Linked DNA regions of Homo sapiens: regions 1, 2, 3, 4, 5 and 6 are each linked to region 7. Evidence: promoter capture Hi-C in 16 types of primary human blood cells and fetal thymus (Javierre and others, 2016). All regions are on one chromosome and are shown on one strand. Each heading gives the region's core, a stretch centred on a gene start or on the middle of the fragment in contact. The rest is flanking DNA. Distances are from core to core; before and after follow the strand shown. Region 1 holds the start of CD99L2 (CD99 molecule like 2). Region 2 overlaps CNGA2 (cyclic nucleotide gated channel subunit alpha 2). Region 3 overlaps PRRG3 (proline rich and Gla domain 3). Region 4 has its middle 17 kb from the start of MIR4330. Region 5 holds the start of HMGB3 (high mobility group box 3). Region 6 overlaps FATE1 (fetal and adult testis expressed 1). Region 7 holds the start of CETN2 (centrin 2).

Evidence for each region. The method cuts DNA at HindIII sites, captures the fragments that hold promoters and counts their contacts. A CHiCAGO score of 5 or more calls a contact.
Region 1: the fragment with the promoter of CD99L2 here is called in contact with the fragment with the promoter of CETN2 in region 7 in 6 of 17 cell types (M1 macrophages, activated CD4 T cells, non-activated CD4 T cells and 3 more); the score reaches 8.1 in M1 macrophages.
Region 2: a contact is called between a fragment that was not itself captured here and the fragment with the promoter of CETN2 in region 7, in 2 of 17 cell types (M2 macrophages and endothelial precursors). The highest score is 7.0, in M2 macrophages.
Region 3: a fragment that was not itself captured here is called in contact with the fragment with the promoter of CETN2 in region 7 in 1 of 17 cell types (M0 macrophages); the score reaches 5.1 in M0 macrophages.
Region 4: a fragment that was not itself captured here is called in contact with the fragment with the promoter of CETN2 in region 7 in 2 of 17 cell types (naive B cells and naive CD4 T cells); the score reaches 6.1 in naive B cells.
Region 5: a contact is called between a fragment that was not itself captured here and the fragment with the promoter of CETN2 in region 7, in 4 of 17 cell types (naive CD4 T cells, activated CD4 T cells, total B cells and 1 more). The highest score is 6.9, in naive CD4 T cells.
Region 6: a contact is called between a fragment that was not itself captured here and the fragment with the promoter of CETN2 in region 7, in 1 of 17 cell types (M0 macrophages). The highest score is 5.1, in M0 macrophages.

Annotation. Positions count from the first base shown.
Region 1 is chrX:150,897,384-150,900,247 of GRCh38, reverse strand. CD99L2 (CD99 molecule like 2) reads left to right here and starts at 1,580. Exons shown (of 11, transcript NM_031462.4): 1 at 1,580-1,726. The coding sequence starts at 1,660. RefSeq lists a silencer at 1,296-1,905. The HindIII fragment of the contact is 7,642 bases long and covers 1-2,640 here.
Region 2 is chrX:151,735,057-151,737,756 of GRCh38, reverse strand. All of the region lies in intron 1 of CNGA2 (cyclic nucleotide gated channel subunit alpha 2), which reads right to left. Among named protein-coding and RNA genes, the nearest start is that of CNGA2, 1.7 kb to the right of the region's middle. The HindIII fragment of the contact is 1,434 bases long and covers 636-2,069 here.
Region 3 is chrX:151,697,372-151,700,086 of GRCh38, reverse strand. PRRG3 (proline rich and Gla domain 3) reads right to left here. Exons shown (of 4, transcript NM_001372163.1): 2 at 1,266-1,303; 3 at 1-91. The coding sequence starts at 1,272. Among named protein-coding and RNA genes, the nearest start is that of PRRG3, 3.3 kb to the right of the region's middle. The HindIII fragment of the contact is 1,106 bases long and covers 740-1,845 here.
Region 4 is chrX:151,149,782-151,152,481 of GRCh38, reverse strand. No RefSeq gene overlaps it. Among named protein-coding and RNA genes, the nearest start is that of MIR4330, 17 kb to the left of the region's middle. The HindIII fragment of the contact is 576 bases long and covers 1,001-1,576 here.
Region 5 is chrX:150,982,510-150,985,349 of GRCh38, reverse strand. It overlaps HMGB3 (high mobility group box 3), which reads right to left and starts at 2,015. Exons shown (of 5, transcript NM_005342.4): 1 at 1,974-2,015. RefSeq lists a silencer at 1,985-2,184 and an enhancer at 2,306-2,840. The HindIII fragment of the contact is 2,746 bases long and covers 136-2,840 here.
Region 6 is chrX:151,718,705-151,721,728 of GRCh38, reverse strand. It overlaps FATE1 (fetal and adult testis expressed 1), which reads right to left. Exons shown (of 5, transcript NM_033085.3): 3 at 228-334. Among named protein-coding and RNA genes, the nearest start is that of FATE1, 4.2 kb to the right of the region's middle. The HindIII fragment of the contact is 2,313 bases long and covers 488-2,800 here.
Region 7 is chrX:152,829,219-152,832,154 of GRCh38, reverse strand. It overlaps CETN2 (centrin 2), which reads left to right and starts at 1,398. Exons shown (of 5, transcript NM_004344.3): 1 at 1,398-1,447; 2 at 2,395-2,553; 3 at 2,878-2,936. The coding sequence starts at 1,445. NSDHL (NAD(P) dependent 3-beta-hydroxysteroid dehydrogenase NSDHL) reads right to left here and starts at 1,092. Exons shown (of 8, transcript NM_015922.3): 1 at 1,038-1,092. RefSeq lists a silencer at 1,159-1,498. The HindIII fragment of the contact is 2,163 bases long and covers 117-2,279 here.

The sequences.
Region 1 (2,864 bases), core at 331-2,830, 1.9 Mb after region 7:
CACACATTCTTAGCCATTCACCAGCTGGGGTTCCTAGTGGTACCCTCCCCCTTTGACACATGAGACTAGACCTGGCTAACTCCCCAACCTCAAGGAACCTCCATTTTGCTGCTTTTCCCTCGTTAATAGGTGATGATACATAAGGCATTGTGAGGAATAAAAATTAAGGGTAAAATGCCTGGAATATGCCATGTGTATAGTGTGTGTTCAATAACTACCAGCTATTTCTGTTAATTCTACAGCTAGAATGGAATAATGTTCCATTCATAGAGTAATTAATGCCCTGAGCCTGGGAAGATCCACTCCTCATATGCTGTTTTGTTTCTGCAGCCCTAAGATTCAGGGCAATGGATGTAAGCCACACGGGAGATTTCGGCTCCATCTCAGGGAGACCCCACACCCCACTGTTCCTTAGGGGTTGGTGGGAGCCACTGAGGGGGGTGCCTATGGCAGCGAGGGCTGGGTTGGGGGCACAGGAAAGCTGCCGAATGGATATTGAGGGGAGGTGGTAGTAGCCGCCCTCTAAGGAGGATGTGGCCCTGGGCAGCCGGTGCCGCATAATGGCAGGGACAGGCTCACGCTACCACTCCGGAGAGCAGTAGCGCTTCCTCTTTGTCTTCGAGAGCCGGTTGCAGCTGGGGCTCTTCTAGGGAGCGTTCCCATCAACTGCTGCAGCGGGCATTTTGCTGGTCGGCACAGTATCGTATCGGAATCTGATTTCTTCGGGTCTGGGAGACGGACTCCGTTTGCGGGGGTTCATGGGAAAGGACTGCAGCGCGTTTGTCGGTCATTAAGCACGTTTTTGAGATCGACTCTGCAGATATGAACTTGCACTTTCAGCGCATTCATCAAAGCCTCGGGAGAGCTGACCCAGTCCCTACCCCCAGTCTCCCGAGCCCGCGGCGCTTCGGCTCCGGGACGCCCCCATCCTCCCCTGTCGCCCACCCGGGCGCCCCCGGCCTCGTTTTCTCGAGACGTGTCACTGCTTGTTGACCGCAGCCAGTCACGAAAACGGTCCTTTTCTTCAGTCTCCGGCCAGGGTTTCACTCCTGCAGGGAACAGCGGGTGGGGACAGAGTGCGGGGCTCCGTGCTGGACGGTGTCTGGAGGGGCCCCAAGGGAACAACCCTTCACCGGGAGAACACCAAGGCCAGAAGGGGAAGAGCCCTTCTCAAGGTCACCCGGGAGGAAATCGGCGCCCACCGGCGCTGCCGCCTCCCGCTCCCCGGCACTGGTGACTCACTGCTCCAGGTCCGCGGGGCCACCTCCGAGACTTCGGTCTCGAGGACCGAGGTGGGACAGGGTCTGCGGACCGCGCGCTGCCGCTGGACCCAGCCCAACCCAACCCAGGCCTCCCCACCCACCGGGTGCCCGCAGGCCACGCCCCTCGCCCGGAGCCCCGCCTCCAGAACGCGGCCCCGCCCCCGATACTGCAGCCTCGCCCCGCCCCCCGGCCTAACCCCAGCCCAGGCGCCCTCAGGCGCCGGCTCTCTAGCGCGCCCGACCTCCATCTTCCCGGGGCCGCGCCGCGCGCGCGCGCGGGCTTTGGGCGGGACCCTGCAGAGGCGGCGGGGCTCCTCCTCCCGCTCCTCCTCGGCCTCCCCTTCGGGCGCTCTCGCGCTAACTGTGCTCCTCCGGGGCCCTCCGCCTGCTCCCAGCCATGGTGGCCTGGCGCTCGGCGTTCCTTGTCTGCCTCGCTTTCTCCTTGGCCACCCTGGTCCAGCGAGGTAAGGCGGGCGGGGGGCGCGCGGGGACCGCGCGGGGACCCCGCCTTGTGGGCCCAGGGGTCGCTCTGCGCATGAGCGGCACGGTCCCCGCCTCTCGGGCCTGCGGTGGCTGCCACCGGCCGGCCCGGCTGTGCGAGGCGGAGCGGCGGGGGTCCGAGCCCCGGGCCCGTGGGGGTTGACTCCGCCGCGGTCGGAGTAGCCGGAGAGGAGGGGTGGGTCCCCTCCTGACGCTGGGCTGGAAACAGCGGGATGGGCCCCCTAAAATCCTGAACGAGCAGGTGTACCACTGGTGACAACAGCTGTCCCCAAGAGTTTACCTTTGAGAAAACCTTGAAGAGAGCAGTCATTTTCGAAATTTGCTGCGAGGCCACCGACAGCAGAAGCACCTGGGGAACTTCCTAGGTGGATTCCTAGCCCCTTTCATCGGGATCACAGCGGGCATGGGCTGTGGGGGGGGGGGGGGGGGGTCAGCGAGGCGTAGGTCTAACCAGCTCTCTAGGTGCTTCTGCCGTCCGCTTCAGTTTTTGAGACTTTGGTCATGTTTTGCCAAGGAGCAGGAGAGAGAAATCCCGCTGAATCAAGGAAGCACGTTTCTTAGACCCTCTGCTACTCAAAATGTGGTCCAGGGCCCAGCCGCATAGGCATCACCTGGGAGCTTGTAAGAACTGCAGCATCTCACGCCCCGCCCCCGACCTACTGAGTCTGATTCTGCATTTCAACTAGATCCGCGGGTGATTCTCTGGCACATTCAAGTTTGAGAAGCATCTTAGTAGAATAAATGCAGTCTGTGGTTAAAAATAGGGTCTTAAACATGTACCAACAGAATCTTCTTACACTTATTTATATCCTATGTCCCCATCAGAAAAAGGGATTAAGGGAAACACTGTAATTGAACGTGAATTATGCTCCAAGCTTCCTGACAATAGAAGCGAACCCAGCTGGTGGAAAATATGTGAGCTCAGGAAACACACACACACACACACACACACACACACTTTGTCCTAGTACTGAGTTCTAGTAAGATTTATGTCACATAAAGGAACACTGGAAAACAGTGGATGGTACTAGCCAAGCCACTTTTGCAAAAGATGCAGAAATGTTTTTCATGTGGGCAACCCACCTGGAGTTGATTCACGAA
Region 2 (2,700 bases), core at 103-2,602, 1.1 Mb after region 7:
TTTTTGTTTGTTTTGTTTTGTTTCAGCTTTGATAGTTTGATAGTGAGGGCCCTCTCCTCTGCGCAGAGCAGGAGAGGGACAAGTCAGTGTTCTGTGCCAGAAAAATCCCTCTGGCTGCTCTGTGGAGCCTGCATTAGAGGGAGAACAAGGGTGAAGGTTGGGGCAGGGAGGAGGCTGGACAAGAGTACCAATGGAGCCCAAGACAAGAGGGCAGAGTGCGGAACTATCTGGGAAGGAGATTGAATGGGACTCAGAGGAGTGGATGTGGGGAGCAATGGAGAGAGTGGGTGGGATCACAAAGAAAGAGGAGACAGAGTGAGGGTCTGGGGCAGAGTTGTGGAGAACCCCAATATTTCAGAGTTGCACAGAGGATGAGGTGTCCACAAAATAGATGGAGAAGGAACAGCCGAGGAGGTAACAATCTAGAGGAGGGACAGGAGATTGTGTCCCACAGTGTCTCTTGCCACAGAGTCAGGAGATACTTGGAGGAGCTCTTCCCTGCCAGGGCTGGTTGGCATGCCCTACCAGGTGTGGGCAGAAATGGTCAGCATGACCCCCAGATTTCCCACAGCCCATGCTGCTGGACCCACAGTCCGGAAGCTGTCCCTGGAGCTCCCTCAACCCCCGCCTAAGCTTGTTCCAGCCTCTGAAGCTGTCACCATGGCGATGGCAGGCACGTCAAACAGCCTCAGAGATGCTCACCTGGTGCTCTCTGCGGAACTATGGCACCAGGATAGTAACGAGGGCACTTGAGGGAAAGGAACCAGCATCACTGAGTCCCTGCTTGGACCCTGGAGGCAGCAGACCATGGAGACAAAAAGTTTCAGGCAATGCAAACAAAGCCGGAGCCATTCGCACCAGAGTTTCAGGGCTGGCCTCCTGGAAAAGCTGGTGTTGAAGATGAAGCTGGCAGATCAAAAGGGCTGTAATCCAGGGCCAGGCCAGTGCTGGGGGCACAGCATATGTTCACATCCTCTCTAAGGTTCTGTCACAAAGGCAGATTCCCCCACCCCATGACCCCTGCTCCTTCTGTACCAGGAAACAGACCCGTCCCTGAGCCTGACTGCCTGCACACCCTCCCCTTTGCCAGAAACTGCCCCCTCATGCTGCTTGCTGGAAACAAGGCAGTGGGGCTGGTGGGTCTCATGTATACACCCTCTCCAGGAAACCTCAAGTCCCAAGGCTCCAGCTACCATCATGTCAAATCAGCTCCTCCTCAAAGTTACCCACCTCTGAAAGGGGCCTGCCCTCTTCCCAGTCACTCAAGCTGGAAGCCTGGTGTCAACCGTAACTCCTTGTTTCCTTTATCACATCCAAGCAGCCTCTGCCCTGAGTAGATTGTCCCCACAAAAAGCGTCAAAGTTCTGTCCACCCATTGCCCTCCAACCCCAAGGCCCTGGACTGGTCTCAAGCCTTCAACATGGCTCTCCAGGCCTGCTGCAGTGGACTCCAGATGGCTCAGTGTTCACTGGGGTCTGGACTGGAGGTGGGCGCATGATCACCAGGGTTTACATTACAGGTAAAGCTCTCAGGGGGATGTGTCCATCCCCATATCATGAGAACAGAGAAAAAAGCTAAGGGTAGAGCTCTGGGGAGCTGCAACCATGAAAGACAGCTGAGGGGCTGGGTGAGTGAAGGAGAATGAGGCTGGGGATGTGAGAAACATGAGGGAGTTCCCAGGGAAGGCAGAACTTTCAGGAAGGGAGCTGTCTGCAAGGCCAATGCCCCCCTCCCATATCAGGAAGATAAGTGTTCTATGCCGGGTACTTCTTCCCCCTGAGATGAGAGCTGGAGCGGGCACTGGGTGGAACAATAGAGGCCTCGCTGGGGACCTTATCAAGAGTAGCGTCAAGGAGTGGTGGTCAAACAGAGCTTGTTTCATGAAGTTTCAAGCGAGGAGTAGGAGGGGACAGACAAGAGATAGAGCACATAGCTCAGTCTTTCTAAGAGACTGAGCAAGAAAAAGAGGAAAGATAGAGTGGGAACTGGAGGAGGATAGGGGGCTGACAAAGGTTCTCTGTCTTGCTGTTGCTGTTATTTTCTATGTCAAGAAGATAATAAAGCAAGCTTAAAGGTTTTGAGGAGGAATTCAGTAGATAATAAAAATATGTGTGCTTGTGAGCCACTCCAGTTGAGGCTGAAGCCCATGAAACATGGGTGGAATGGGAAGGTTCAGGTACCAGAGGAAGTGACAGGAGACAAATCCAGGACAATGGGAAGGGGTTGCTGAGAAACAGGCCACAAGACAGTTGAAGGGATTCACTCTTGCAAAACCCCAGTGTTCTAAGTGAAATGGGAGGGATGGGGGGATCTCATCTTCAGAGACACCAGGCAGCAGTAGGTGCAGACTTTGGAGGCCAGAACGTTTGCAATAGCTGCTGCAAGGACAGACAGGAGATACCAAACAAGTGCGAGGACAAGAAAAGGCTTGGCAAGGAAGATGACAGACCATGTACCTACCAAAGAGAACAGAGATGGGCAACAGATCTTAGATGAGCAGTGGGATTCTCAAGGAGGGTGGTTTAACAACCTAGAGTAAGGCATGATTATTTGGTAAAAAGTCCAAACACAGTCAAGGTGGAGTTGTAGGCCTCTTTTCTCCTTATCCACAAGTTGAGCAGCCAGCCCAGGACTTTAAAGAAAAACCAGCCTAGTCAAGGAGTTTATTGAAAGAATTTTGAGGAAAATTCCTTCCTAGAG
Region 3 (2,715 bases), core at 43-2,542, 1.1 Mb after region 7:
TCGATGGTGCCCTGGCGCAGCTCCTCCAGGAACTCATTGGCACGAGGGAATCGTTTCAGGACCGAATGGGCATCCTTGGCCTCCAGAAACACTGAGGAGAGAGCCCTACTGAGGCCTGGAATGGGGAGATGCCCAGGGGCTCCTTCAAACCAGGCCCAGCCCAGCAACTGAAGCATAATTATGCAGGGAAACAAGGCCGAGTGAGCAGGCAAGACACCAGGCTTCTGATCAAAGGACATGGCCGGCCCTTTGTGAAAGGGATGGAAGGGCTGACATTCTATGGTGCCATGATACACCTGTCTAGAATACCACAGCCCCAACAAGGTTTAGGTCCCTGGCTACATGGAAGAAAATGGTAGCCAACTGCAAGGAAAGTGCACGTTGCACAGGAACAAGAAAGAATAAGAATTGTAAGTAGGCAATGTTCAGTGACTAAAGCTCCAGTATCTTCTGCATCACCTTGAAAAGTGAAAGTTGGAGCCCTTGCAATGAGAATGTATTCCTCTTTAAGGCTGATACTGGTGGAACTAATACCAGATAATCCTAGAAGACTCTACCAGGGTGGTGTTCCTCCACCTGAACATCCACCTGTGCCACCAGGTGGTCTGGCATCAATAGTCTTGTTCAAGAAAGTCTAATGCAAAGCCAGCCTAGGCTAGATCAGACAAGTGGGCATACACGAGCCTAAGAGCACCTCTGGGGATGGGAAGTAGCAGGGTTCAGATGGAGAGTCTAAGCTTTTACAGACGGGGCACAGAATCTCCCTACAATACCGTCTTTGGATGGTGGGCATATCTACTTATTCCAGAGAGAGACACCCAGCTACAAACAGGCTGACCAGAATAGCTTGAGCTCTGCACCCACATAAGCCTAAGTTGAGACTGTGAAGGATGAAAGAAGAGGTGACGTTTGCTCCTGTTGTTCACCTAGAGGTGGGACTTCCTGGTTCCCATGTAAAGCAACTCCCCCTGGATGCCCAAGCTGGCATGTCTTTGCCAGCAGGCAGGCACCCTTCCCCAGGCCCTATGGCCTGTCACGTTAGTGTCACTCAGGGAAGCCTGGGTAGGTACACATCTACAAGTGACATATACTTCAGAAGGGAGCCAAAGAGTTGAGAGGGCAAAACTGCTACTCAGCCATTTGGAAAATGGCTACAGGCCCACTTGGGGGGTAGGGGGCAGGGAAGCTGGGAAGGACTTGAAACCTGACTCATGAACCCCTAGGCATGGCCCTCCACGGCTCTGCCCAGGCCTGGAAAAACTCACCTGCCATGATGCTCCCTCAGCTGCAGGGTCTCACTTCTCTGGAGTAAGAGAAAAGCAAAGTTGCAGTGAAACCACATCTAGAAATTTACAGGGCACACTCTTGGCTCTGGGATGTGCCCCCCTCCCACTGGCGTGGTCAAAAGGTTGAAGCAGCACCTTGTGGGGTGCGTCGTCCTCCATGCAGCCACCCATGGCTTCCGCTGCTTCTCATTCTGCCCCAAGCTCTTCTCCAGAGACCTCCCCAGGCCCAGTAGGGCCCAAAGCAAACCTTTCAGCGTTTTCCCCCAAGAACATGTTCTGAGCATCTATAAGAACCAAGGGTTGACCTTTTTCTTTTAAAAAGGAAAGCTCCTAAAGGCTGAGGCTCCTCCTTCCTTGCTCCCCTCAATGAATCTTTGCAACTTCCAATTGGAAAGGACCTCAGAGATAGATGAGGAGATACAGCCCAGAGAGACGGGCTCAGACAAGGTTAAGCAAATCAACAGTGACAGTGGCAGGACCAGAATTCACAACTAATTTTGAGCACAATGGTGAGTCACAGATACCTCCAATGACAAGCATGTTCCCTGAAAACAAAGCTTAACACAGCATCAACCATCTCAAAAGTCACTGCCCTGCTGGGACTAGCCTATAGCAACCTTCAGTGGACACATCTTCTACAGGGTCTCATCCTCCATGCACAACAATGCTGCATTCTTCATATTCCCAGGCATAATCAGAAGGCCCAAACCCAGGTGACCCGCTGTGTTCATCTTCACCAGACAAAGAGGCAAGATACCTGGAATCTTCTGGAACCAGGCCTCTCTTCTCTCTTTGCATTAAAGCCCATGGCAGTAGAGTGCCAAGACATGAATTTAGATGCCCGACACTGAGACGCTAACTACAAGAGTTGCCCCTAATGTGAGCTATTGTCAGAAAGCCTTTCTCCTGCTAAGGAGCTATCCAGCCAGTACTTAAACCATGGTCACAGCACACTGCTCCCTCTGTCCCTCCCCACAATACACACGCCCACTCATACACACATTCTAGAGCCCTTGCTGAGCTGTCCACATCTGGGAGCAATCACCCCACTGCTCCCCTCCCCAAGCAGAAGCTCTGGTTTGATGACTAACTGGATGCAAGACACGTGAACTGTGGAATCCATTGAGCCCTCCTTTTTGCCTAGGCTGCCAGGAAGTTCAGCGTCACTATTGCCAGTCAAGCACAGGCACCCTGGAAGCCCAGCTGTTAAGCACATATGCTTCTGTCCTGCGATGTGGTATACAGCTTTCTATTTATGTTTCCAGTGTCCTATTGTGCATTTATAATATGCCACCTAATCCTTTTGGCAAACAGGTAGGATATAAATCAATAATTTAGGCTGGTCGCGGTGGCTCATGCCTATAATCCCAACACTTTGGGAGGCTGAGGCGGGCGGATCACCTCAGGTCAGGAGTTTGGGACTGGCTTG
Region 4 (2,700 bases), core at 39-2,538, 1.7 Mb after region 7:
CAGAGTGAGACCCTGTCTCAAAAAAAAAAAAAAAAAAAAAAAATTCCAGCCCCCATCACTACCCCTGCTCTCCCTGTGCTCTTGCTAGACATTGTCATACCTACCTGCCTCAATATACAAATGAAGAGGCCAAGATCCGGATACAGGTAGAGACTTGTCCCAGGATGATCCAGTGGGTCACTTCTCACAGTTCCTGGGTGCACCCCCAGAGAAGCTTTGAAGCACATGGAATTGTTGGGGAATCCATTTCTCTGATTTTAAATCTGTATAATGGACCTTAGAGAAACTTTCAGCCTGAAGAGGAATACCCAGTGACCCAGACCTCCTTCCTCAGCGACCACTGGCGAAGAGGAAATAAAATAGGTTAGCCCTGGTGCTAGGAGGTATCCCGGGAAGCCAGGCTGAATCATTCTGAGAGTGGGGATAGGAGCGGAAAGAAATTTGGCCTTTGAAATGGATAGGTCTGGTACTGCAGAGATGGGGGAACAGGCCACCTGGGGCCCTGTGGCAGGGCAAGCCCGGGCTGCAACTAAAGAACTAAGATCCAGCAAGATTCCATCTTAGAGCTGGTGCAAACTGAGGCAATCGGTAAGGGAGAGTATGTCATTCTCAGTGAAAGAGCGCCCTCTAGTGTCCGTAAGAGACCTTGGCACCACTGAAGAATTTGGAAAGAATAAGAAGTACACAATCTCAGTAACCAGATGAGACTCAACTTGCTACCTTTCCTTGATTGTAGCCAAATTTTTCCTCCAACACATAGATACTTTCAAGTAATGAAAAGCAATTAGTCATGAGGTGAATTTGTGGATTTCCAGGAATTATAAGCATAGGTCTGAGTCTGAAGCCTGAAGGAGCACAGACAGCACCCATGGGCCAAACCTATGCTCTGGAATATTCTTCATGGTGTAGGTGTCTTGCACACGTGTGCATGTCATTTTTCTTTACAATGTAATTTTTAATATTTTTTTAGAAAATTGATTTATACTTATTTCAAAAAGCTTGGAAAACATAAAAGTAAATCTCTGGCCTTGAAGAAGTAACAGAATCTGGAATTACTCTTCCACCATAAGCAACTGGAAGTTGGATACAACATACGAAAGAACTAATTTTAGGCACTAGACAAGAGGCAACACGCATGGCATCACAGATAAAGAAAGAAATGAGGTAAGCCCAAACCTTGGAGCATGGAGGAGTGACTCAAGCAGAGCAAAGAAGTTTCCCTGAGTTGAAGAATTGGAGATTAAAGTTCAAGGAGGCTGAAGTAGCTAAAATGTGCGGGACAGAGTACCAGAGATGAGGCAACTGCATGGAGAAAGAACTCCAGAAATCTGACATGGGCTCTCCTTAGGTCTTTACTGAGTACTAGAGTGAGCAAAGAACAACTGGGAAGTTTTAAAAGAACTATGCTCAGAACTCACACAAGACTAGCAGACATTCAAACTCTGGCCCAGAGGAGTAAAGAATCCTCAGTAGTTATCTATGTCATTCAATGGAGACCCCAGAGGGATCATACATTAGTAATAAATCTGAGGTATCCCCAGAGAAAAGGCTACTCTGGACCTCCTCCAGCAAAGCTTAAAAACAAAACTTAAAGAGACAAAACAGAGTGACAGACAACTTGCTTCTCTGTCAAAACAAAGTCCCACAGTCTTTGAAGAAGATAAAATCCACTCAATGATGTAACATTGACAGTGTCCAGAATCCAATCAAAAAATTGTCAGATACACTAAGAAGCAATAAAATGTGAGCCAAATGGAACTTCCAGTGCAGAAAAATATAGTACCTGAAATGAAAATTGCACTGGATAGGAGTAACACTAATTAGACTTTACAGAAGAAAAGGTTAGTAAACTTCAAAACATAACAATTAAATCTATATGAAATGAAGATTGAAAATAATAAACAGAATCTCAGTGATCTAGGGGACTCAGAAGGGGGTGCAGAAAAAATATTCAAAGAAATAATGGCCAAAATTTTTCAAAATTTACTGTAAGCTATAAACCCACAGATCAAAAGCTCAACAAACTCCAAGAAGACTAAACATGTAGAAAACCACAAGGCACATAAAAATTAAATTGTTGAAAAGGAATAAAGCTGGAGACATCACACTATGACTTCAAAATACACTACAAAGCTATAGTAACAAAAACTGCATAGTACTGGCATAAAAACAGACACATAGACCAATAGAACAGAACCCAGAAATAAATTCATGTACTTACATCCAACTGATTTTCAACAAAGATGCCAAGAACATTCAATAGGAAAATGATGTCTCTTCAATGAATGGTGCTGAGAAAACTGGCTATCTGTATGCAGAAAAATGAAACTAGACCCCTATATCTCACCACATAAAAAAATCAAAATAGATTAAATACTTAAATGTAAAGCCTGAAACTATGAAACTACCAGAAGAAAACATTGGAGAAATACTTCAGGACATTGGTCTGGGCAAAGATTTTGGGGTAAGACCTCAAAAACACAGGTAACAAAAACAAAAATAAACAAATGGGGCTTAAACTAAAAAAGTTCTGAACAGCAAATGAAAGTAGAGACAACCTGTTGAATGGGATAAAATATTTTCAAAATATGCACCTGATATGGGAATAATAATGTCCAGAAAGTACAAGGAACTCAAATCAACAGGAAACAAACAAACAAACAAACAAGTAATCCATTAAAAAGTGGTCAAAGGACATGA
Region 5 (2,840 bases), core at 259-2,758, 1.8 Mb after region 7:
ATCAAGTGCTCCAAATGGAGCCGACCCAAGTAGGGTACTCAGTGTTACGTTTACAGAACTGCTATGTTTTGGAAACTACAATCACAAAGTGGGAAGGGTAGAGAGAGGACACATTTGGTGGGGGTGATAGAAGCTTGAAATCTATGACTTAAGACTATCTGGTCATCTGCTAACTGTTAACACAATTAAAAACAACAACTCTTACCACTGCTGAACACAAGACCAAAGCAGGAGAACTATACGTAGGGGACATCTGAAATTGTCACTATTGTTGATGTGTTTTGGCTTACTAAAAAAACGGCTTTACAACACGGGAGATCTGGAAAGTGAGCAGGTACCCCCGTACTATTAGTTCAATTCATCACTTCGTCACTATCTAAAGGGGGAGGGTGTATAAAAAGGGCTAGTCGTGCTCATCTGTAACCCAGAATGCAGGTCCAGCCGAGAACACTTTCTCCAAAGTTTCCAAATAAAAATGCAGCTGCGGCATGTCATCGTCCCTGTCCCACCCCCCAGCTTCCCGCCATCTTTTCCTTTTCCCACACCCAAGGTCATCATGTAAAACTAAAGAGCTCCCCTTGGCAGCAGCCGCCCAGGAGGCTGCCCAACAGAGACCCGCAGCGGCGGCCCGGGCGGGGCGGGACCGGGAGCGGGGGAGTCCCGGCCGGCAGCAGGCAGCCCGCCTCGGCCCCCGTGCCGGGTCACCGGGACACCCGTAATTCACCTTCCATTTTGTCAAAAGCCTCCTGATGAAAGAAAGTGCCCCTGAAATCCGCCGCTGTCATCCCCGGGGGACGCGCGGGGCCGGGGGCGGCGGCGGTGGCGGTGCGCGGGGGGTGTGCGGCCGGGCCGGCGGCAGCCGCGGCACTGGTGGCGGCGTCCGCCGCGCCTCGGAGTCCCACTCGCTAAAATGGCTGATCCGCGCGCGGCCGGCGCGGGCGGCGGCGACAGCGGCGAACAAAGCGGCCCGGGCCCCGCCGCCGCCGCCCGCCCGTCGGCCCCCACCCCGCCCCGCCCCGCCCCGCCCGGGCCGCCCGGGGGCTCGGGGGCCCGGGCCGGACCTCCCCGCCCCCCGGCGCGGGGCGCACTCCTCGGGATAACAAAGGCGCCCGTGCAGCCATGACGCTCGGCCGCTCCAGGGCCCGCAGCGGCGCCCCCGGCCCTCCGAGCCGCCCGCCCCGGGCCGCGGGCGCCGGGGCCGAGGCCGGAGCCCGCCGGGCGCCCCGCCGACCGCTCCGCCCGCCTCCCCTGCCCTCGCCGGAGGCCAGCGCCGCGCCAGCCATGTTAGCGGCGGCGGCGGCGCCGGGCGGGCGGGAGGCGAGAGGGGGGCGGCCGGCCCGCGCCCCCCCGGGCCACCGGGCGCTCCGCGACGGCCATGTTAACGCAGAGCCAGCGGCGTAGCCTGCGGGCCCGCGCGGCGCCGGGCCAAGCCCGGGAGCGAAGTTTGCCCGTGCGGCGGCCCCCGGCGGGCACCAGCCGCGCAGCCCCCGGCGGGCACCGGCCGCCCGTTCCCCAGCGGAGTCCGTCGCGGGCCGGGGAACTCCCGGCCCCCTTCCCGCTGCCGCCGCCCAGCGCCCACAGCCCGCAGCCGCCCCTCTGCTCGCCCAGCCGCCGCAGCCGCAGCTGCCCAAACATCTGGCCTCGGGGGCCCTGGGTTCCCGGCTGCGGCCCCTGGGGCCGCCACGGGCGGGCGTCCGCCGAGGGGGCCGACCCCCGAAAGCGGGGAGCTCGGGGAACGCGTTGGAAAAGTTGAAACACCTGAATTGCTTCTTCCTTCCCGGCCGCCTAGCAGGAGGGAAGGCGGAGGGGGCGGGAAGGGAATGGGGAGTAGAGGCAGGGGGAGGCGGCGGCAGGGCGCGCTCACGGCGGCGCGGGCCGGAAAGTTGTGCGGGCGCTGCGGCGGCGGCGGCGGCGGCGGCGGCGGCGGCGGCGGCGGCGGCGGCGGCGGCGGGAGCGGGCGGTGCGAGACGTACCTGTATTGTTCGCTAGTCTGGGCAGCGCAGGGCACGACGCGCGGCTCAGCGCTCCCCAGCCTCGCGCTAGCTGCCTCCACGAGAGCCGCCTGATTGGCCAGCGGGCTCTGCCGTTTAAAACAGCCTCCTCGCCTGGCCATTGGCTGCGGGCCTCATGCATATTAAGCAGGCGTGGACGCCCATTGGGCGCGGCTGCTGGGATCATTCATTCAAACAGAACGACCCGCCGGCGCCGGCTACGGAGGCCAAACAGGGAAAGACCTAGTCTCGCCTGCCCGCCCCGCCCACCTCGCCAGCCCCCTCGGGGAACAGAACTGGGATCGCCAAGGGCTTTGAAGAGGTGGCCCTGCGATTCCCGGAGGCCTCGGCCTCTGGCGTGGGAAGATGAAGTCCAGCCCCGCTGCGCTGCCCTCTGCTCCCACCGCACCGCGGCCTTGGCGCCCCTGGCCTGCAGTCAGCTCCCCTGCCCGGGGAAACACCCCTGGGCCCACCACGAAGGGCCGATGGTAGACCACCTCTACCCGGTTCGGCCGCGGCGCCGCGACAGAAACGCGGCGGCAGCTCGCTCCTCGATGCCTGGCGGAGGGCAGCTGCTTGCTCGCCAAGACCTCGGGATTTAGTCCTCGGATCTCGCTGCCTATCCGAAAGCCACCTGATTCCGCTTCTGCGGATCGTGCTCAACTAGGCTCTTTCCACTAAATGCCAGAAGGTCTTTATTTGCGCCCGAAATTGCGGAACCGACGGGCTAAAAGAGGAAAACAAAATTTGGCAAGAGCAGAGAATTTGTGAGAAATTGTAGTTTTGTGGGCAAAGAATAACACTTTTCTTCTTACCCTCTTCACTGTCTCGGTTCAAGGCCCTCATTCC
Region 6 (3,024 bases), core at 395-2,894, 1.1 Mb after region 7:
CTGAGCTAGCCTGAGCCAGCCTGGCCCAGCCCAGTCCAGCCCAACTCGGCTAGGCCGCAGAGCACTGGGATGCCCCAAATGGGCAGGGAGCCAGGGTACTCATGGTCTCTGACAGGGAGGCATTCCAGGCCCTCATGACTCCATCCTGGCCAGGCTGCTCACCAGCCCCTCTGCCCCACTCCGGGCCCTGTCTGAGCAGCCAGGGCCCACAGACCCTCAGCTCTTACCGATCATAATGGAAACGTATGCCTTGGAAATTGCCAGCGTACTCCTGGAGATGGGCATCCCCATGGCCTGATTCTCTCAGCATTCTGGGCTTTGGCAGCTGGGACCCCTGAAGAAAGGAATGGTCAGTAAAGTAGCCTGCCCAACCCCACATGAGTGGCTTCTCCAGTTTGCCCAGAGCCAATGGTGCACCCCATGGGGAATCACATGGTGCCTGGTCTCTGGAATCAAGGGCTGGCAGCTTCAGGCCGCTAGGAAAGCTTGGGAACCCCACACAGGCTGCTGGCCACCACCCCACCCACACCATGCTCCTCGGTAGCTCTTGGTCATCCAGGCAGGCTGTGGCAAAAGAGGAGCAGTAACAGGGGTCCCTGTCCTCTGCAAGAACTTTCACATGCAGGTATTAGCTGAGAGGCTGAGCAACCTACTGAAGGAGAACGTAAAACCTTGATTGGCAGCCCAGGCCATGGAGGCCTGGCGAGATGCCTTTACTTTCCAAGGATGCGTGGTAAATGTCAGGGCTAAGGCTAGAACCCTGGCTACTGGGAAACCAGCAACTCCTCTGGGTAAGCTCAGCCAGCCATCCCTGTGGCTTTCATTTTTATCCATCTGCCAACAACTCCCTAGCATGTACATCTCTGGCCCAGAGCCCTTGGGCCAGGGCCATCTGATGCCTTTGAAGCATCAGTGGGGGATAGAGGAAAAGAGCGTGGCTTTTGGTGCCAGACCTGCCTGGGCTCAAATCATAGTTCTAGGTTTCCAGTTCAAGATGAAATGTTTCACAAGCTGCTTATTTAACACACACCACATGCCAGGGACCATGCCATCCTCTAAGCCCTTACCAATACTAAGTGACTGATTCCTCGTCACAGCCCTGTGAAACGGTATCATTATCATCCCGTTTTGAAAGTAGGGGAAACTGAAACACAGAGAGGTTAATTACCTTGTCCAAGTCACACAGCTAGGAAGTAGCAGAGCAGTAATTTGAACCCAGGACATTTCAGTCCAGAGGTTATACTCTCAGCCATTACACTACGATGTCCCTCATATTTAACACTCCTTCCTGTTAAGGCTCCACTAATTGCCAGTGAAGACAGTAAAACAGTACAAACCCATAAGACAGAAGACAACACAAGAGGCATCAGCTAATGAAAGAATTCAATAAAATTCTGGAATCTAGGAAGTGTCCATGGAGGAACTAGGCCTCATTGTGGATGGGAAGCAGATGGGACTCAGCTGACAAAGGAGGCCCCCGCCAGCAGCATCCAGAGAGGACTTAGACCTGCAAGGACAATGGCGGCATATCACAAGAAAGGAGGGGAGGGAGGAAAACAGGGCCTTTAACTAATGATCTATGTAGGAAGCAGTCATCCACACTTCTCACTCCTGGTTGGCAGCCAGGCACTTACCGCCAAGCCAAAACCTGAACCAAATGAATAAGAAAGCTGGGGTGAAAGTGACACAAAATAAAACCGTCTTCATTCTGGCAGGGTTCAGGGTGCCCCACATGACAGCCAGTTCCTTACCCGCTCACCCTGCTGAAGTAGAGCCTGTCATTTGAGAGGCCTGACTGAGGCGCACAGAGTACTGGGTTAGCTCTTCTATTTGCCTCATTCTTACAAAAAAATAGACAACCAAGGCTCACCTGTCACCTGAGAAATATCTGCAGCCCTCTTCTGTTCCGAAGTAACAACATCAAACTGAAGGTGGATCAATTTCTGTGTAAAGGATTTTCATAGGAACTTTGCCACTGCACTCTGTTTGTTGCAATAAGGCATAACTAATCTTTCTCAAGAGGAGCACACAGATATTGGTGCAACTTTTTTATGAACCGTAGTTCATGGTCACAATATTTTATTTTCTTAAGATACTTCAAAAATTGCATTAAAAAGATAATGGGTATTAGGGAGACCCCATGACTATAATTTGATCAATGATGTCTCTTAGAAAAATTTTCAGACCATTGCTTGATTTTCCTATAAATTGGAATCAGAAGGACAAAAAAAATTTTGAGAGATTTGAAGGCAAAAAATAAGGATGAATGGCTGATGGCTGGAATTTGTTTGTTTGTTTCAGATAACATAGTTTGTTGTTAACCCACCAAGTCCCAACTTCTCTCTGTTAATCATTTCAAAAAATGTTATTTTAATTTCCATGTAATTTTAAAGGCACACTGCTTTTTTCCAAGTCAGCAGGATAGCATTATTAACTTTTCTCACCCTTGCATATTATGGTTCTCCTAGAGGCAGTTCCATTAACTGTTTTATTCAAAAATAAAGGAATGAATGAATTAATAAATAAATAGAATTAGTAAATTAGATTTCCTAATTCTAAATTTCTAAATTTAATTTATAAATTCAATATAATGTCTATATTTTCAAACAGTCTACCTCTAGCCCTTGTAGTCAACTTTAATTAAACCAGAGATTATATCTCCCCTAGTCTCAGGGACATTAGTGGTTTGCAGGAGCCTGACCTCCTGGAGCAACTTGATTTGGCTTCTGTCTTTGGACACAAAAAGTCAACTCAATATTTGACTTATTTTTATTCCCAGGAAACCTCTAACCTGGAAGCTTTTTTTCTCATTCTTCACTGGGGCCACCCAATAAATCATTTCAGCAATCGAGTCTCCCTCCCTCTCCAACCTTATTGCCCCCCAGTAACTTTCAAACTTCACTGTGGTAACAGTAAAGCCACCATTTTCTAAAATTTTCCCTCATCCATCTGAATGTGGTGAAAAGCACTGGCTACAGAATGATGGGATTCGTGATTCCCTAAAACAGTCAGGTCTACCTCCTC
Region 7 (2,936 bases), core at 149-2,648:
GGCAGGAGTGTGGCTGGCACATGAGGTTCAACCACAAAGCCAGTGTTCTGGGGCTGGAGTGAGCCAGACGAGAGAAGAGTTGTGGAGCGATGGAAGGGGACACGTCGTGCCAAGCTTTGGAGATCACAGTGAGAACTCTGGCTCGTACTACTTGGGGGGATGATGATGACCCAAAAGTCAGGAATCTGTTCACTGCTGAAGAGAGAAGAGGGCAAAGGGCAGCAGCTCCATTTAAAAGGTTCTAATAAGCCTCGGGCCTTTCTCTGTCTGAGAAACTTACTCTCTGCCCTCTGTCTCCCTAGATTACTGCCCCTATGCCTGGAGGAAAAACAGGTGAAGGCTAAAAGCCACGGGGATAGCTAAAGAGGGCAAACTGGACCTCCAGCTCCACTTCTGCAGGTCTATGTCAGTCCACAGCCCTTGCACACGCTCCCTTTTAATTCTCCAAGCATACCTCTCACTTCCAAAACTCCTGTGACTCTGCTGATGAGGGCGTCTCGGCCTGGAATGCTCCTCCTTATCTGCATTGTGTGGGTGTCAAAAAGAGTATATTTTGATGACCTCTCCCCGCCCCTCATGCTCGCTCACATCCCCCTCACTCCTTTCAAAGTCCGTTCCCAAAGGCCCCAGTTCACCGTCCTGGGCTGCTTTTAGCCAGGTAAGATCTAAAGTGATCCTCTCTTGGAACCTGGTCTGGGGCCTATACATCTGGGTCAGTCTAGGGGTGCTCTCGAAGGGCCACCCTCAAAGAGCGAGCCTCGGCTGGATTCAGTTCCTAGGTCCCAGCCGTCCGACCTCTGCGACAACACTCAGCACACCCCTTCCCCTCTCCGGGTCTCAGTTGCCCCGTGAGTACAGTCCCTGCTCCAACACGCAAGGTAATCGTTTCTGGCTGCTCTGATGCACTCGGTCCCTAAACTCAGCCTTAGGTCAACCCAGAAAGCACCCGACCCGGGCGACCCCGTAGCTCCCCACCCTCCCGCACTGCCCAGTCGCTGACACAGGGTGACCTCCAATGGCAAGGCCACGACTCTTACCCGTCCGTAGGCGCCCCCCTGTCTGGCCTCAGCTCGCAAGCAGGCTGCACCCACTGAACTCCAGGCCCGGACCGCCACCCTTTACTCCCCTCCCGCGTGAGCCGAGAATCAGCCGAGCTTCCTCCACCAAGAGGATTGGCCCAGCTCGGCGACGACTCAGCCAATTGGCGCTCACGGCGTGATCTTGCCCAATAAAGACGGGGCTCTGTCGCCAGCGTGCCCCTCCCCGCGCTGGGCCGGGGCTTTGCCAGGTTAGTCCCACCCTCTTCGGCCCTGCACCAATAGGGAGAGGCGGCGACGAGCGGACGGCCAATGGGGAGCGGGGCTGCGCGCGCGGGGCGGTGGGAACGGCGCCGAGTCAGTGTACACGTCGGTTGCCTAACAACCGGCAGCGGACTCCTTTGGCTATGGTGAGTGCTGCCGCTCTGTCGCGCCCCACGCCCAGCGGCTGAGCCCTTCCCAGGCCCCAGCTCGGCCACGCCGCCTCTCCTGCGCCTTTCTCGGCTTTAGCGCACCAGTCTTTCCTTTGAGCTCTTTCCCGGGAGAGTAGGGTACAGACGCTAACCAACCTACTGGGCCTGCGCTTCGCTGCTGCCTCCTCTTCACCCACAACAGGCCCACACCCGCCCCTCGGGCTCCCCTTGCATTCCCTGATCCCCTCGGTGAACCTCCCTGGGCAAAAAAGACTCGAATCCCTCACAGGCCCCTGACTCTCTCAGACCTTGGCCCCCTGGCCTCCTCATTCTGCCAAAATTTCCACACACAGCTGGGAAAAGGTGTATCGTGTTCTGTTACAATGTTTTTTACAATTTAAATACAGGGGCATTCAGGGGATGCTTTAGCTTCTTGGAGAAGGCACGAAGGTGCCAGATGGATTGAGTTTTATTACTCGGTACTGACACAATATACATCTTAACAACTTACTAATATTTGGCCAAATCTAGAAGTAATTGGGAAGTCGGAGTACTTACTGGGAAGGGGAGTACTGGGAGTGGGCATCGTAAGACTGTTTTCAGAACCAGGATCCCCACGTTCGGGAAGAGCTGATTATCTCTAGTTATTCACAGTCATCTTCTTGACTGGCTCTCTTTTGGGATGATTTTCAGTAAGAGGTGTCCTTACTGAACAAGTGATCTCCCTGCTTCTAGAAACAACAGTAAAGAAAAGGGAGGGGTAGAAGTTCATGGAAAGATTCATTGTTCTTGCCAGTAAACCCTGTTATCTTTCTTTTTAAGCAAAGCTTTGGAATTGGTTATATAAATGACTTTAAAAATACATATGGGTGTCTGTAACTATGTTATGTAAATATGGACTGTATGATATATTATTGTGCTTGTGTATTGCATAACATATAAAGGCCTCCAACTTTAAGAAGGCAAACATGGCATCAAGTTCTCAGCGAAAAAGAATGAGCCCTAAGCCTGAGCTTACTGAAGAGCAAAAGCAGGAGATCCGGGAAGCTTTTGATCTTTTCGATGCGGATGGAACTGGCACCATAGATGTTAAAGAACTGAAGGCAAGCTCTGTGCATTCCTGCCGTACTGCCCTTCCTTTCCTCTGCCTCTTCCTTGTCATCTCCCTATCACCTCTCTACCCCTTTTGCCCTCTTCTCCCTGCAGTAAGTAACAGGGGAGGTTGTACTGTGCTGTTTTCCTGTCTTTACTTACTTTGAGTATTATTCAATAAAATTGATTGCAAATATCAATTAGATCAATGTCATAGTGTTCCCCAATCATATTAACATGACCACATCAGATGCTGGCTTAATGCTCTCAACACTGTTATTTTTGCTCCTGCTACTTTAGATGTGCTTATTGAGACGATCCTGTTTTCTTTATAGGTGGCAATGAGGGCCCTGGGCTTTGAACCCAAGAAAGAAGAAATTAAGAAAATGATAAG